Linked DNA regions of Homo sapiens: all the other regions are linked to region 5. The links are contacts of gene promoters, found by promoter capture Hi-C in blood cells and fetal thymus (Javierre and others, 2016). All regions are on one chromosome and are shown on one strand. Each heading gives the region's core, a stretch centred on a gene start or on the middle of the fragment in contact. The rest is flanking DNA. Distances are from core to core; before and after follow the strand shown.

Region 1 (2,700 bases), core at 38-2,537, 440 kb after region 5:
AAGAAAACCTAGAAGGAAATCTTTGTGACCTTGGTGTCACAAAGGATATAAAGAATATGAGTCAGAAGCATACAAACGTGACCTTCTATTCCCTTAGAATAGATTATTCCCTTAGAATAGAAGATCATAAAGTATACAAGAAAAATTGATAAATTAGACTTTTCAAAATTAAGAACTTCTGCACTTTAAAAACACCATTAAGAAAAGAAATAGCTAAATCAGAGACAGGCAGGACATTTTTGAAAAACATGTATCTATATGAGAATATATAATTAACTTTTAAACTCTATAAAAGAAGCCAAAAATTCAATTTAACAAACAGTTGAACAGAGAAGACAGCTGAGCAGCACACAAACCCATGAACAGGTGTTCGGTGTCGTCAGTCATTAGGGGAATGGCAACTAAAACCACAGTGAAATGCCACCACACAACCACCCAGATGCTAAAATTAGATGACCGATCATACCAAGTGTTGGCAAGCATATGGAGAAACTAGAATGCTCACCTGAGGCTGATGGTAAGGTGAAACGAAACAACTTTAGGAAACAATTTGGGAGCTTCTTAACCTGTGACCCAGATATTTCACTTCTTGTTGCTTATCAAAGAGAAATAAAAACATATGACCACAGAAAGACTTGACATATATGTTCTTAGCATTGTTACTCATATTAATTAGCTCCCAGCTGGAAACAACCAAAACATTCAGTAACTGGAAAAATCTTTTCGACTTTTCACTTAAAATTGTTGCTGATTCTTTTTGTTTTGTTTTTCAGAGTAAAGAAAACTTCTACTGAGCTATTTACAACTTTTAACAATTGAGCAAAATATACTCCTGTAAACAAAATTTAGAGCATATTTCTTTCTCTTTACCTGCCTTCTCCAGAATTTGGAAATTATTTGTGAGTATTTTTAACATAAGGCAATATAGTTACTTGAGTAAGTTCAATAAGAATGTGTTTTCTTTTGTAGCAAGACACAGTTGGAGACACTGCTTATTTTACCAAGGCTTTGACTGAAATGACATATTTTCAGACTGCTTTAAGAAATCGAGGCTGACCTACAGAGATGATGAAAGCCCCTTGGAGGAACTGACCTCCTACCTTGTCCTGTACAGGATTCCCGACCTGTGGCAAATAAAGAATGTCACTTTCTGACAGGCCCAGGAACTCCAAGCTTTGTTGGGACCTCAAGAAGAAAGGAATTCACCCAATTCATACAAGTATCTGCAGGCACAAATAAATCCTTGGCTGGGCTCAAGAGACTTTTAAAAGGTCTAATCTGAGATTCCTTATGAAAAAAATTCCAGCAAAGCCAGTTAGAAAAAAAGAGCCTATATGGCCAATAATTATTCTTGCTGCACTTTATGTAAATAATTAGGCAAAGTATAATAAGGCAAGCTTATTTTGCAAATAAATTGGTCTTGTCTTTAGTAAAAATAAACTGGAGAGAGAAAAATTATGTTTCAAAACAGCTACAGCACACCTGTTATTAGATTCCAGCCTCATCCATTGTTCTTGAGCTTCTGCTGATGACCCCATATTTGGTTGATTTTTGGGGTTATTCACCTGGATTCCTTGAGGCTTCAGGTCAGTTCTACAGGGACTCCTGAAGCTAGGACTTTTGAAACTGCCGCTGCAAAATTACAACTGAGACAGTGAAAGAGATCTAACCTAACCAACTGCATCTTGCTTCTAACCTCCAAGCTGTCCTTGGTCATTCCTGGGCATAGGCTGAACTAATTTTGGGAAGAAGTTAATTTATAGTTTGTAGTTAAAAATGAAGACAATAACAGCGCATTCCAGAAGAACCCTCCTTCTTTCCTGGGAACTAGATGCCTTTGTAGGACTAACAAATTAGCCACAGGATTAGAAATTATGATTTAGGAGTCATGCAGCTGGAGGCTACAAGATTCTGATCTCCCACCCCCCAAACTGCTCCTAAGATCAGCGCTTGAGATATTTTGCAGACCTGGCACTTGATGGATCAGCTGGCACCACCCAGATCAAGAAACCAGCTCATCTGATCTGTGGCTCCCACCCAGGAATTGACTCAGCGCAGGAAGACAGCTTTGACTCCCTGTGATTTCATCTCTGACCCAACCAATCAGCACTCTCGACTCACTGGCTTCCTCCACCCACCAAATTATTCTTAAAAACTCTGATCGCCGAATGCTCAAGGAGGCTGATTTGAGTAATAATAAGACTCCGGTCTTCCACACAGCTGGCTCTGTGTGAATTACTCTTTCTCTTTTGCAATTCCTCTGTCTTGATAAATTGGCTTTGTCTAGGCAGCGGGCAAGGTGAACCCACTGGGCGATTTACACTTTCACTCCTTATATTAGGGCTAATTATTATTATTACTATTATTTTAAATTTTAAGTTATGGGGTACGTGTGCAGAATGTGCAGGTTTGTTACATATGTAAACGTGTGCTATGGTGGTTTGCTGCACCTATCAACCCATCACCTAAGTATTCGGTCCAGCATCCATTAGCTATTTTTCCTGATGCTCTCCTTCCCGCTCCCCAATAGGCCCCAGTGTGTGTTATTCCCCTCTGTGTGTCCATATGTTCTCACCGTTCAGCTCCCACTTATAATTGAGAACATACAGTGTTTGGTTTTATGTTCCTGCGTTAGTTTGCTGAGGATAATGCCTTCCACCTCCATCCACTTCCATGCAAAGGACATAATCTCGTTCCTTT
Region 2 (2,700 bases), core at 178-2,677, 370 kb after region 5:
CTGAGTGTGTACTGACCCTGGGCCTCTGGGCTCAAGGGAGGCAGCCTTTCACCCTCCAAGGAACAGGGGCTCAGACAGTCTGAGAACACAGAACACCTGGGGCCAGAGACAGGCTATTGGGAAGGACTGGGGCTATCACACGAGTGAATTCTAAAATTGCGTGTGTGTGCGTGTGTCTATGTGTATGTACACATGTAAATCAGTATTTTTTAGTGCAAAGGATAAAGTGAACTGAGAATATCATAAACACAGGCTCTTTAGGGCTCCTTCAGCGAACAGATAGTCTCATTTGTAACAAACACGTGTTGTTGATTCGCCAAATGATACAATGCTGAAAAATAATGTGCTTTTCTCCAAAAATCCTCCAACTGTTCCCTCATTCCTACTTCTATACATAGGTACATTTCTTAGCAAATGCCGTGTCCTGGAATTCAAAAATCAGGCTAGAACGGTTACAGCCAAGAGGAGCCTCAGGAGGCATGATGATGACATATACTCCAGGGTCATGGAAGAAAAAAAAGGGCATTAGGTGACAACTAAGTATCTGAAAAAATATGGACTTTAGTTTGTAGTAACGTATCAATAATAGTATTGGTGCATTAATTTGACAAGTTTAACATACTAATGTAAGATGTTAACAATGATGGAAACTGCGTGGAGGAATGTGGGAACTCTCTGTACTATCTTTGCAGCTTTTCCATAAATCTAAATCTATGCTAAAATAGAAAGTTTATTAAAAACAATCCGGCTGGCCATTGGGGGCTCCCGCATGTAATCCCAGCATTTTGGGAGGCCAAGGCCGGTAGATTGCTTGAGCCCAGGAATTTGAGACCAACTGGGTAACATGGAACCTTGTCTCTACAAAAAAATACAAAAATTAGCTGAGTGTGGTGGTGTGCACCTGTAGTCCCAGCTACTCAGGAGGCCGAGGAGGGAGGATCGCATGAGCCCACGAGTCCAAGGCTGTGGTGAGCCCTGACCACACCACTGTGTTCCGGCCTGGATGACAGAGTGAGACCCTATCTCAAAACAAACAAACAAACAAACAAAAAACAATTGTGCCTGGCCTGGTTTGATGGACTCCTGTGCCAAATAAGGGTTACAGGTGGGAGGTGGGTGAGTTGAATGAAAAATCAGAAGGCTTGTGATGGCTTCATCTGAAGTCATCTCTGGGAGTGCTTTGCCATAAACATTCTTCTTTCCCTGTTGTCTCAGCTGACCCTTATGCCAACTGCCTGAGATATTATTATCCCATTTACAGATGGAGAAACCAAGTTTGGAGAGTGCTGTCGTTTGAATGTGTCCCCTCCAAAATTCATGCTGAAAGTTAATCCCCACGGTGGCAGTATAAAGGGGTGAGGGCCTCAGGAGGTGATGAGGCTGTGAGGGCTCCTCCCTTATGAATGATTCATGCCTCATCAAGGGGCAGTCCGGGGCCAGCTGAGGCCTTTCCCCCTCCCGCCAGGTGAGAAGGTGCCAGGTGAGCATGCGCCAGGTAAGCTCGCAGCAGGAAGGCGCCACCATGGAAGCAGAGAGCAGCCCTCTCTAGACACCAGTGTCGGCCCCTTCATCTCAGACTTCCGGCCTCCAGAACTGTGAGGAATCCATTTCTCTTCTTTATAAATTACCCAATCTATGGTATTTTGTTACAGCAGCACAAGCAGAGGGAGCAGTTCTGAGCCTCCCACCACCCATTCCACCCACGCAGCTGTGCCTTTTCACAGGCAGTCTCTGCACCCACGGCTCACTTTGCTCTGTGATCCTTCCCCCCTCTCTGCCTGACTGGTGGGCCAAACCTTAATATGCCTTCGAAATTTGCTCCTATTTCACCTCCTCTGAGGAGAATTCCTTGACAGTCCCTCCTAATTCACCAGGCCACACTCTGTATGTCTTCTGAGGCCTGTGCAAATGAATTCTCTCCTCCAGCTTTTCAGATCCTGTATTCAAGCACGCCCTCCTCCAGGGTTTCCTCTTTGAATCCACACTATCCAGCCTAATGCCTAGAGGACAGTGGCTGGGAGATTTGCATTTCTTGAATTGAATTGAAGCTGGCATGAAACCTGCATTAATCAGCTCAGGCTGCCATGACAAAGTCCCACAGACCAGGTGGCTTCAACACCAGCCGTTCATCTTCTCACTGTTCTGGAGGCTAGAAGTCCAAGCTCAAGGTGCCGGCAGGGTTGGTTTCTCCTGAGGCCTCTCCCCTGGGTTTGTGGATGGCCACATTCTTGCTGTGTCCTCACATGGTCATCCCTCTGTGTTTCTGTGGCCTAATCTCCTTTTCTTTTATTATTATTATTTTTGAGACAGAGTCTTGCCGTGTCACCCAGGCTGGAGTGTAGTGGCTTGATCTCAGCTCACTGCGACCTCCAACTCCCAGGTTCAAGCGATTATCCTACCTCAGCCTCCCGAGTAGGTACCACCATGCACAGCTAATTTTTGTATTTTTAGTAGAGATGGGGTTTTACCATGTTGGCCAGGCTGGTCTCGAACACCTGACCTCAGGTGACCTGCCTGCCTTGGCCTTCCAAAATGCTGGAATTGCAGGCTTGAGCCATGAAACCCAGACCCTAATCTCCTTTTTTTTTTTTTTTTTTTTTTTTTTTAAGACAGAGTCTTGCTCTGTCACCCACGCATGCAGTGGAGAGATGTTGGCTCACTGCAACCTCCACCTACCAGGTTCAGGCGATTCTCCTGCCT
Region 3 (2,700 bases), core at 158-2,657, 310 kb after region 5:
AAGGAAATACACCTTTCGTTTGCTTCCTAGTCATAAATGCTTTTCTCTAGCCTCTCTATCATGGCAGCAACAGTTCATTCTTGTAGCAGCAGCTGAATCCAGTTTTCAGTTTTGTCTTTTTTTTTTTTTTTTGAGATGGAATCTCACTCTGTAGCCCAGGCTAGAGTGCAGTGGTACGATACTTGCTCACTGTAACCTCCGCCTCCTAGCTTCAACTGATTTTCCTGCCTCAGCCTCCTGAGTAGCTGAGATTACAGGCATGTGCCACCACGCCCAGCTAATTTTTGCATTTTTGGTAAAGATGGGGTTTCACCATGTTGGCCAGGCTGGTCTGGAGCTCCTGAGCTCAAGTGTTCCCTCCATCTCCACCTCCCAAAGTGCTAGAATTACAGGTATGAGCCACCACGCCCAGCCCAGTTTTTCTTATTCTTGCAGAAACAAACTCTTCAAGATGCTGTCAGAGATGCCAGTACTGTCTGTCACTCACCCCCTCCTCAGACATATGTTTCCAGCCCCATGGGCCTCTCCTCCAAGTGTCTAAATGTTAATAATTTCAACCTTTTTCTTCTGATTGCCCAACTTTACAAGTAATATCTGCCTCTGCAGTCTCTACCTTCATCATACGTTAGGATTATCTTTCTGCTTTAGTGGTTTTTCCATGCCTAGTTAACAATTCCTTTTATTATATTATCTGTTAAAAATACTGATATAGTTTCTGTCTCCTCACTGGTCCCTGGCTGGTACCCCAGCTCATAAGATAGTTTTATACGGTAGCTGGTTATAAAAGAAGTTTCTGAAGAAATTAACTTTCATACCAACACTAACTAGTTAAGAAACATAATTGGGTGTTTATCTGAAATTCACTTGTGACTGGGTATCCTGCATTTTTATCTGCTAAAGCTAGAAACCCTCAATATGGAGAGCCTGCTCCAAGTGTTTTGGGATCAAGGGATGGGATAAGTGTTGATGGGGATGCTGTGTCAATGGTGGGATCCTACACAGGGCTACTGGCATTATGATAGCGTCCTGTTCCAAAGCTTGGATTAGCACACTAGGACAACCCAGGGTTGAAGATAAGTGAATGCTTTACAAAGATGGTGTCTGAAGGGTGGTGAATTTCCCAGGAATATTATCCACACACATTACAATATATTGGACATAATGTCAGCTCTACCTACTCTCTCCAGAATTCTTGTCTTATTATTCGTTTTTGTCAAGTCACTCAAATACACCAATTCGCTGCTGTCTCAGAGCCACCTCCCATTAAACTGACCTCTGACTACAATGGTACTAGTTGAGTCCATGAGGCCAATAAACCTGGGGGCCTTGTGGGCTGGGGGGGAAGGAGCCAGGCCACCCGGAGCTGGCCTGAATCAGTCTTTCTGGGAGTAAAGTCTCTCCTGAGGGAGGTGAATGAACTCTGTTCTCACCCAGCTCACAAGCCACGTTTTCCTGGTGGCGCTAACAGTGCATTCGCCTCCCTTGAATGGCTTGGGTCACAGAACGGTTTGTTCTTGTTTGTTGAATAATAGTACCAGGGAACTACCACCACCACCACCACCATCCCCTTTACATACAAAACACAGAAATTCAAACATTTAGGTTCAAATTTGTATCCAAGAAAGGTCTGGAAAGACCCTGCAAATGTAAAAATAGTTACTCTGGGAGAATGAGATTAGGGGGTTGGGTAGTGGGAGTAAGGCAGTGCTTTTCTTTCTTTCTTTCTTTCTTTTAAAACATTTTATTCACTGCTGCATTGCTTGAAAACAAAAGCTTTACAAACAGAATGTAATGTTAATAATTTGTAACAGACCAGTAACAAAGCAATAACAATAGAAACAAAATTTGAAAATAAAACCCACTTCCAAACACAACTATTTTCATGTTTTGAAATACTGTTTCCCCCCACACACACAATTATTGCAGTTCATAGGATGTGAGCAATTTTTTTTTTATTCTGCTATGTTCCTTAACATTTTACTACAATTTTTCTTTGCATTGCTAAAAATTCTTTCTGAGCACACCCGTTTCAGGGCTAGAAGGGTAGCTTTGAGGACAGCTTGTAGCAAAACTTGTCTTTCCTGAGCCCTGCCTTACCCAGCTAAGGAAGGTGGAGGTGGGGAAGGGGTTAGTTTATCTTGGGCAAGTTCCTTCTTTTCTCTGGGCCTCAATTTTGGTGTTTGTTTTTTTTTTTTTTTTTTCCATCTGGAAAAAGAGGCACTGGAAGCAGGTTCTCCCAGGGTCTCTTCGAGTTCTCATCTGTTACCCTCACCAAGCACATCATAAATAAGGATCATTTGGACATAATTCTTTGTAAATCTTTATTTAATCCACCAGCCTTCCTGTTCCAAGATCACTTGGCGCAATGCAGTTCATTTATCCTCATGATAAATACCTGGCAGTGGACAGAATTTTCCCTTTCATAGATGGAGAAACTGAGTCCAGAGGTGTGGGATGGAGGTGTGGGATGATTTACCACCGTTTCGGCCTCTTATCAGGGCAGCCCTGGGGTTCGGCTGCCCGTGCTATGGGTGATGCATAGCAGACGGGGTCTCCGTGGTGTGGACATCACGGCGGCTTACGTATGACTATTGCACAGATCCATCATGTGCCTGCGGCCTCCCTTTTTTTCCTCTTTGGACTTCAAGTCACTATTTCTCTGTGACATTTCTTTGGGATCTATTCGTGAATAAACCTTTG
Region 4 (2,700 bases), core at 36-2,535, 260 kb after region 5:
TGCTATCGATCAGTTCTAAATGGAGGCGATAAGGTTTGACTGGATTTCTAGAAGTAGAAATGGAGATTTCAACTGGGGAGTAGAAAGGAAGATTTAAAAAATAACTTAAGGACTGATTAGATTTTAAGAAGCAAAACTGGATTTGCGATTAGGGGATCCCAAAACCCATGGCTTTGATCTGCCTGGAAGAATCGTGAGGAAGCTTGAGTACAAAGGAAAACTCCAAAATTCAAAATTCCCACCAAATTGTGGTAGTAACTTCTTGATTTTTTATCCTCCAAAATAAAATATATCTGTAACTATTCAATGTGGGTTACAGACAGCCTCAAATTTTACTTGCAGAGGCTTTTCAATGACTTTAAACACACAGAATGGCCCACCTGTCTGGATTTTACTCCTCCTTTGGAGGGAAAATATATTTTAAAACATCAGGTCAATTCTTGGGCTCCTGCAAAATGCAGAAGGCCAGAAAACCAAATTCCCATCATTCAGATAAGAAACTTGAATATCGTGGCTCAATTCTGATTACAGAGCAGTAATAGATAAAAGCATAGGCCACCTGCCAGAAACAAGAAAACTTCCACTGATGGGCTGCTACATTCAGTTCAGACCAATTCCACGGGGCTTTTCCTGCCTGGGGTTTTAGTCATTGTCTTGATCCATGCCCCATTCTTATCTTTACTAAAATCATCATTATTGTGCTTTTATTATGATTTTCTCCTCTTCTTTCTCTGCTTTTACCACAAATATATTTGAAATCTTCAGAGAAAAGGGAACACAGAGGGTCAGTTATAGATTTCTCTTAGGAAAGGGATTTTTGAGTGAGCCATATGGTTTTGCTCTTAAGCAGCCAACAGTTCCCCTAGAGTTAGGAGAATCCTCCCATTGGAAGGGTCTGAATCCTGGGAAGTCTCTTTAGTTCTCTGCACACCAGAATCCAACGGCTAGAAAGGAAGTTTGTGCAACACTGGGATTCCTAACATTGCATTCCTGAACTGCAGAGCTTACAGTTGAGGAATGATACGGAAGATTCCGTAGGACGACATTGCTCCTAGAGAGACAGTGATTGGTGGGAAGCAAACGGAAACTCAGACAAGAAGCTACCCTGGGGAGAGGAAGCGGATGGGAGCGACAAGTCATGGAAAATCCTAAGGTTTAATAGAGCCCTTCAATCACACATAGCTTCTGGTTCTGAAGAGCCAAGTGCCCTCATATCAGATTTGGCAAATACAAAGTGTGGGGAAAGGGGGAAAGTACAATCCTGCAGGTTGGACTTACCTGGGTTCCAAACCAGGGCTGTTTACTACCCACGGGGACCTGAGATTACAGGCTCTTTCTGGGTATCAGCTTTCTTTCCAGCAAAACAGAGATCATCGTATCTACCTCTTGGAGAAAGACTTCAAAGTCCCTGGCATCAGATGATTTCTTCATTGACAGGGATCCACCTTACTGTTCAATGGAATGACATGCAAGATACAGGCTACTCTCGCTAAAAAGTTGTTAGCCAGTATCCAAACGTGAATGTGCCAAAACTTATAAATGTATTTTGTATAAATTAAAACAGATTCAAGATTATTCCTATTATAACCCCATTTATATTTTCTTCCCTGCCTTCTTTAGAAGGTAACAAAAGAGTAGCTCTAGAGATAGCCATTAAATTACTCTTAGTAACCAGTTTATGTTGTATGGCATATGGGGCCATGTCATGGTCTACCAGAGGTCAATATAGCAGAGCGATACTCCTTCCCAACAGAGCCTTAACAGCTGGTTCTGCAGGCAGGCTAGGACAAATAAGTTCCCAAAAGACAAATAGTTTCAGATGTCAGAAAAGTTGCTTCAAGTTCTTAAAGCAGCAGCTCGCGTTGGCAAGAACTGCCCTCTTCTGGAACAAGGAAAGGAAAACTAGCATACTTCCTCTTTCTTATGCAGACACAAGCAGCTACATTTGCAACTGGCTTCAGCTCTAAATTCAGTACAACTAAATTGTCTTAAAATTTGTTTAAAAGAATCACCTTGCCCTGGAGGAAGGTAACTTGTTCTTCACACAATCCCACCGCTGCAGCCGGTTAGTGGTTTTCAGGCAGGTTCTAACTCCAATATAACCTGAGGGAAAACTGCCTACCTGGAGAGGTCACCATTGCCTAGTACGTGACTGTTTGTGCCCACAAGTGGGGAAGCCACAGTAGTGTGGGGCTGGGGTGTCCGCCCATTGCTGATTTAGATCCACTACCAGCACTGAGACCAGGAGTAGAGATTTCCCCCTCTCAGTAAAGCAACCTCCTGTGAAATAAGCAAAATCAAAAGCCAAATACAGGATTGCCACTGAGGATGGTTTTGATCTGCCTTGAAGAATCTTGAGGAAGCTTGAGCATAAAGGAAAACCCCCAAAATTGTAAAAGAATAGGTAAAAGACAAATTTAATAAAAAACAACTTATGCCTTAAAGCAGTTTTCCTGTGCATCCATAAACACTAAATAGAGAATCTTCTTTAAAAAAAAAAGAAAAAGATGCTACTTTCAGGTTGATTCATGAATATCATGTATCTGTTTTTTAAAACTTAATTAGTTTAATATGTTTTTAAAATTAGGTAATATAGTCACATTCTCCAAATTCAAAAGGTTTCATTTGCATACCCATGTTCATAGCAGCATTATTCACAGTAGCCAAGACGGAGAAGCAACTCAGGTGTCCATCCATGGA
Region 5 (2,700 bases), core at 156-2,655:
ATCCCCTGAGGTCAGGAGTTCCAGACCAGCCTGGCCAACGTGGCAAAACCCCATCTCTACTAAAAATACAAAAATTAGCCAGGTGTGGTGGTGGGCACCTGTAGTCCCAGCTACTTCGGAGGCTGAGGCAGGAGAATCGTTCGAACCCAGGAGATGGAGGTTGCAGTAAGCCGAGTTTGGGCCATTGCACTCCAGCCTGGGTGATGAGCAAGACTGTCTCAAAAAACAATAATAATAATAATATTGAGTACCTACTGTATGGCAGTGTGCGTGCAAAGCATTTTATAAGCTGTATCTCATTTCATCCTGAAAAAAAACCACGCATAACCTTCCAATGCACTTTTTGAGGAGTTCTTGAGGCTGAGATGCTAAATAATGCATCTGAGGGTCTAGGCCTGCAAAGCAGAGTGTACCCAGGAATACCATGCTCCACTGACACACCACACACAGCCCTGTGGTTGTTGGCTGCCTGCGTAAAAGCCTGCCTTAAGGGTCAGAACAAAATCAAAGTTAGTGTCATCTTCACCCTCAGACATCCCTCATCACCCCAAGAGAGACAGGCCTAAGGGCCCTTCTCCAGGGCTGAGTCTCTGTCACTCCAGAGAAGCCCTGTCTGGCTCCACTCTGGACACTGTGCATCCAACCTTGAACACAGCACTGAACCGACTCTTCTAAGGGAGAGTTTCAACTCCTCAACTCCAAAAAAGAAATCTCTCCTAGAACCTTCAGAGTCCCCTCATCCTAGCCAACGTTTCATACCAGCCATTTGGAGAACAAAGTCCATCAGTGAACTTTTCCAGGACTTTTTTTTTTTTTTTTTTTTGCAGTATCTGCCTTCAGCCAGGTAAATAAGTCAGCTGCTAGACAAGGAAGCTGTCCCTTCTCCACTAGTTCTGAGCCCCTACCTTCTCTTGGTCAGGCCACTGGTTGACAATTTGAGAGACTCCGTGTGTCGGAACTGTCTTTCCAGGCTTAAATTCAGCCTGTGTTTCATAACACCCTTTCTCTGCGCTCCTGAGCTTTCAGTGGTGCTCCAGAGGAAAGGAGAGACAGAGCAGACATTTTCACTGCCATGTTTATATCAAAGTACATTTGAAGGCAGAGGGAAAGCGCTCAGGCCTAGGCATGGGGATCCTGGTCTTTTCTCCTATTCTGCTATCAGGAAACGTGACAGCCTTAGCTGAGTCTCTGGTTTTCCCGCGGTTTGTAGAAAAGGAGGTAGCACTGAAAGGCCAGGGCCTTTTCTTCCTCGAATTCTGCAGAACCCTGTGATCTCCTCAGTCTGCCCCTCCAGGAAGAGTGAGGCCAGGGTCCAGCCCCACCCATCGCAGCCCAGCCCAGCTCTATAAAGGAGCCTCCCAGGCAGACACCACTGGGAGTTCCAACTCTGTGCCCTCTTCGGCCATGAACCTCTGTCTTTCTGCATTACTCTTTTTCCTGGTGATCTTACTGCCTTCAGGTAAGACAGTGGGCGTGAGTCTGAACATAAAAGTGGGTGTTCCCAAAGATTGAGATGCTTAAAAAACCCTCTAACTATAAGCCCAGCAACAGGACACCAATATCAAATGGGCCACCATGTTAGGGGCATGGTGAGCGGACCCCAGCTCCTGCCCTGCTCTGCTGTTGCTGCAGCTGGAAGATCTGCCAGTGCACCGGGGACGGGGGTGGATGTCATTGTGCACACAGATCGTGCAGCCACCCAGATTCCTATCTCCCCTCCAATGCCTCTGGCTACCCTGAGCTTTATCTGCCTTGCTGAGTTGTGATAAGAGGTGAGGTAAATCACAACTAACAAGCCATCAACCAGGAGGTGATGGCAAGCCTAGGATTTCTCCCAGCCTCATTAAGATTGATTTTTCTTTTCTGTGGTCTCTCCCCGCTTCAGGAAAAGGTATGTTTGGGAATGATGGAGTCAAAGTTCGCACCTGCACTAGCCAGAAAGCCGTATGTTTCTTCGGGTGTCCGCCAGGATACAGGTGGATTGCGTTCTGCCACAATATTCTGTCTTGCTGTAAAAATATGACACGTTTTCAACCCCCGCAAGCCAAAGATCCATGGGTTCATTAAAAGGATATGTGAATGGCTCAAAGTACTACACTCCTAATCTGTGTGTCAGGATCTTAGAGCTCGTAAGTGAGCCATGGGCAGAAATGAGGACCACATTCTGACAATTTACTGGCAAAATTCCAGAAACATTTTGTAAAGGCAGCACTGCCATGAAATGCATCCCCTGTTATTTTTCCTACCCTCCCATCTCCAATCACTCATTCCTCTTTCAAATTCAAATTCAGGCCAGGCGCAGTGGCTCACGCCTGCCCGCCTGTAATCCCAACACTTTGGGAGGCTAAGGTGAGCAGATCACTTGAGGTCAGGAGTTTGTGACCAGCCTGGCCAACATGGTGAAACCTCATCTCTACTAAAAATACAAAAATCTTCCGGGTGTGGTGGGTGCATGTAATCCTAGCTACTCAGGAGGCTGAGGCAGGAGAATTGCTTGAACCCGGGAGACGGAGGTTGCATTGAAAAGAGATCACGACACTGCACTCCAGCCTGGACAACAGAGTGAGATTCCGTCTCAAAAAATAATAATAAAAATTCAAATTCTATTGATTAATACAAGTTCACAGGCCCAAGCAATGATATATTCTGGCCATAGAAACAAAAGCTAACCACACACCAGTCACACACTTGAGTGGTTTA
Region 6 (2,700 bases), core at 64-2,563, 350 kb after region 5:
TTGGTGAGCACCTGTAATCCCAGCTACTCAGGAGGCTGAGGTATGAGAATCACTTGAACCTGGGAGGTGGAGTTTGTAGCGAGCCAAGATCATGCCACTGCACTCTAGCCTGGGTGACAGAATGATAATCCATGTCAAAAAAAAAAGAAGAAGAAGAAGAAGTGAGGAGAGGCTACTATAACCACAGTGTGTGGTCATTATTAGATATTAGATTAGATATGAATTATTAGATGCATCTGGCATGCAGAAGATATTTAGGAAACCATAGCTATTGCTACTACCCTTAATTTCTGGATTACACAGAGAAGGGATGCTAATTCCCACTCCTTCCCATGCCAATAATTTTGTCTCCTGTTCTGACTGAGAAGGTTGAGGTGTCTGGAATGAGGATTAGCAGATGGTCCCATAAAGAGGGAGTCCTCTGTTTATGGGAGAGTCCCTCCAGTTCTGCATATGTTTGCTGAACATGCATTGATTGTGTGGCACCCCACCTCGCTGCTGATACATTATTTTAAAATCAAACTCTTTGTTTTGGTATTTAGAAGCATATCTTTGATTCTCCGTAAACAGTTATGTAACCACTTTTTTCATAGTAAACCATACATAGTTAAGGGCTACATATTTTCAGTCTAATTAAATAAATTCAATAGATATTTACTAAGTGCCAACTCTGTGCCAAGGCTGGACCAGGCCCTGCAGCTGGAGATGGAAGATGGTGTTTCCTTGAGAAGATTACCATAAAGAAGAGAGACGAGAGTCATCACTACAGCACAGGTGTGTTAAAGGGAGAATAGATAGTTTTCGAGTGTTGTGGAAGCATAGGAAGGAGGAATTAATTCCTCTTGGGGAAACGGAGGAGGAATAGCAGCAAGGCGGATCTGACATGTAAGGGTGTGAACGCCCCCAAGGAGCAGGGGCATTCTAGACACTGTGGGTAAACTTGCTGATGGCCTCCTGTGGCTTCCGCTTGGGCTTGGTGGGGAGGAGAGGAGAAAGTAAGGCTGGAGAGGCAGGTGGGCTGGGAATGCTGAGGCTGGAGCTTGACAGTAAGAAGCCCTGAAGTGTTTTCATCAGGATTTGAGGTGATGGAGTGGCATTCCGGAAAGATCCCTTAGGCAACAGTGGGAAGAATGAAGCAGAGAGAGGCAAATTGGGGCTGAAAGAGTAGCAGGGGCTGTTGAAATAGCCCAGAGGAGCTGCAGTGATGGTCTGAGCCAGGGCAGCAGCAGTGGGGATTTCTCGGGGGCTTTGGACGGAAAATTGACAGGAGGTGGCTGGAGGTCAGACGTGAGGCTCCAGGGCGGTGAGGATGGCTCCCAGGCTTTCCGCTCCAGTGACTTGGGGAACACAGTTGGAATATTGTGAGCGTTTCATTGACTTCACCAGAGGTGTGTGAGCCCTCTGTCTTCTCCTGAGCCTCAAGAAGTCTGGGAGAGGATGAAATAGGGGAGGGAGGGCATGGGAACCAGGCAGGGTAGGAAAAGCCAGGCTGCCTATTGTGGTCAGACCTCACCACTCCCCGATTTCCTGGCAGACACGGAGAACAGGGATACCGGGCTGGGCACAGGAGTGGGGCCTCGACAAGCAAGAGAAGCCCCCTCCAGAAGCAGCCCCGGGAGCCGTCCTCTGGGGAAGCAGATGGTCCAGGAAGCAAGAGGAGGGAACAGGGCCTCATACACAGGTGTCAGAGGATCCTAAGAACATTCTGGACTGGCAGCTTTCTCTGTGGGTTTTCATGGGCTCAGCGGCTGCCTGGGTGGGACGCTGATCCTGGCTCACTTTCAGGCATCGAGGAGACTGACAATCTCCTCGTCTTATCCACGTTCTCCCTCCAAATTCATTAAGTTAAATACACACACACACACACACACACACACACACACACACTAAGACAGTTTCAAATGTGCTAAGCTAGGCAATAGATTTATATATTATAAAGAGATTCTATTCTCTAAGAACTAAAAACAATACTATAAATGCTCCAATTACAACTTACTTTTAAACTTAATGTTTGATGATATCCTTTTGTACTTGTCCTCTCATCGTGCTGGTCTCTGATTTTGTGCCTTTCCTCTGATTTTCCTTCACAGGTGAACACAATCGACCAGCCAAGGTGATTCACACACTTCAGCTTGAAGCTGATCTGCCACTTGTGTCTTCTTGTCTCTATTGAATTAAGTTCCTGAGACCTAATCCTTCCCATCACTAGTATCGGTGCTTTTATTTTTGTTTTCTACTTAGTTGGATAACATAGTGAAGGAAAATGTGCTAATATAATAGAAATAATTGCATTAATAAGCCTGGTAAACAGGCAGAGACAGTGGGAGCCATGGCCAGAGGCAAGCTGCTGGCAGCCAGGCAGTACCACCATACAAAAGCTCACAAATTTCTTTCAAGAAATGCCATACGGCTGGGCATGGTGGCTCATGCCTGTAATCCCAACGCTTCGGGAGGCCTAGATGGGTAGATCACTTGAGGTCAGGAGTTCAAGACCAGCCTGGGCAATATGGTGAAACCCCCCGTCTCTACTAAAAATACAAAAATTAGTCAGGCATGGTGGTGCATGCCTGTAATCCCAGCTACTCAGGAGGCTGAGGCAGAAGAATCGCTTGAACCTAAGAGGCAGAAGTTGCAGTGAGCCGAGATCATGCCACTGCACTCCAGCCTGGGTGACAGAGTGAGAGTCCATCTCAAAAAAAA

Evidence for each region. Contacts are between HindIII fragments. The CHiCAGO score rates a contact against its expected background, and 5 or more counts as called.
Region 1: a fragment that was not itself captured here is called in contact with the fragment with the promoter of DEFB136 in region 5 in 9 of 17 cell types (non-activated CD4 T cells, M2 macrophages, M1 macrophages and 6 more); the score reaches 9.1 in non-activated CD4 T cells.
Region 2: a fragment that was not itself captured here is called in contact with the fragment with the promoter of DEFB136 in region 5 in 7 of 17 cell types (endothelial precursors, activated CD4 T cells, naive CD4 T cells and 4 more); the score reaches 7.7 in endothelial precursors.
Region 3: a fragment that was not itself captured here is called in contact with the fragment with the promoter of DEFB136 in region 5 in 4 of 17 cell types (M2 macrophages, endothelial precursors, erythroblasts and 1 more); the score reaches 5.7 in M2 macrophages.
Region 4: a contact is called between a fragment that was not itself captured here and the fragment with the promoter of DEFB136 in region 5, in 12 of 17 cell types (naive B cells, neutrophils, M1 macrophages and 9 more). The highest score is 8.6, in naive B cells.
Region 6: a contact is called between a fragment that was not itself captured here and the fragment with the promoter of DEFB136 in region 5, in 6 of 17 cell types (activated CD4 T cells, M1 macrophages, M2 macrophages and 3 more). The highest score is 6.0, in activated CD4 T cells.

The regions. Positions count from the first base shown.
Region 1 is chr8:11,528,774-11,531,473 of GRCh38, reverse strand. All of the region lies in intron 1 of BLK (BLK proto-oncogene, Src family tyrosine kinase), which reads right to left. Among named protein-coding and RNA genes, the nearest start is that of BLK-AS1, 28 kb to the left of the region's middle. The HindIII fragment of the contact is 224 bases long and covers 1,176-1,399 here.
Region 2 is chr8:11,598,450-11,601,149 of GRCh38, reverse strand. No RefSeq gene overlaps it. Among named protein-coding and RNA genes, the nearest start is that of LINC00208, 23 kb to the right of the region's middle. RefSeq lists an enhancer at 876-1,712. The HindIII fragment of the contact is 6,914 bases long and covers 1-2,700 here.
Region 3 is chr8:11,661,556-11,664,255 of GRCh38, reverse strand. No RefSeq gene overlaps it. Among named protein-coding and RNA genes, the nearest start is that of GATA4, 41 kb to the left of the region's middle. The HindIII fragment of the contact is 736 bases long and covers 1,040-1,775 here.
Region 4 is chr8:11,716,113-11,718,812 of GRCh38, reverse strand. All of the region lies in intron 2 of GATA4 (GATA binding protein 4), which reads right to left. Among named protein-coding and RNA genes, the nearest start is that of SNORA99, 12 kb to the right of the region's middle. RefSeq lists an enhancer at 1-25. The HindIII fragment of the contact is 2,161 bases long and covers 205-2,365 here.
Region 5 is chr8:11,973,304-11,976,003 of GRCh38, reverse strand. It overlaps DEFB136 (defensin beta 136), which reads left to right and starts at 1,405. Exons shown (of 2, transcript NM_001033018.2): 1 at 1,405-1,459; 2 at 1,886-2,067. The coding sequence starts at 1,405. The coding sequence ends at 2,067. The HindIII fragment of the contact is 18,049 bases long and covers 1-2,700 here.
Region 6 is chr8:11,619,576-11,622,275 of GRCh38, reverse strand. No RefSeq gene overlaps it. Among named protein-coding and RNA genes, the nearest start is that of LINC00208, 44 kb to the right of the region's middle. RefSeq lists an enhancer at 910-1,410. The HindIII fragment of the contact is 4,298 bases long and covers 1-2,700 here.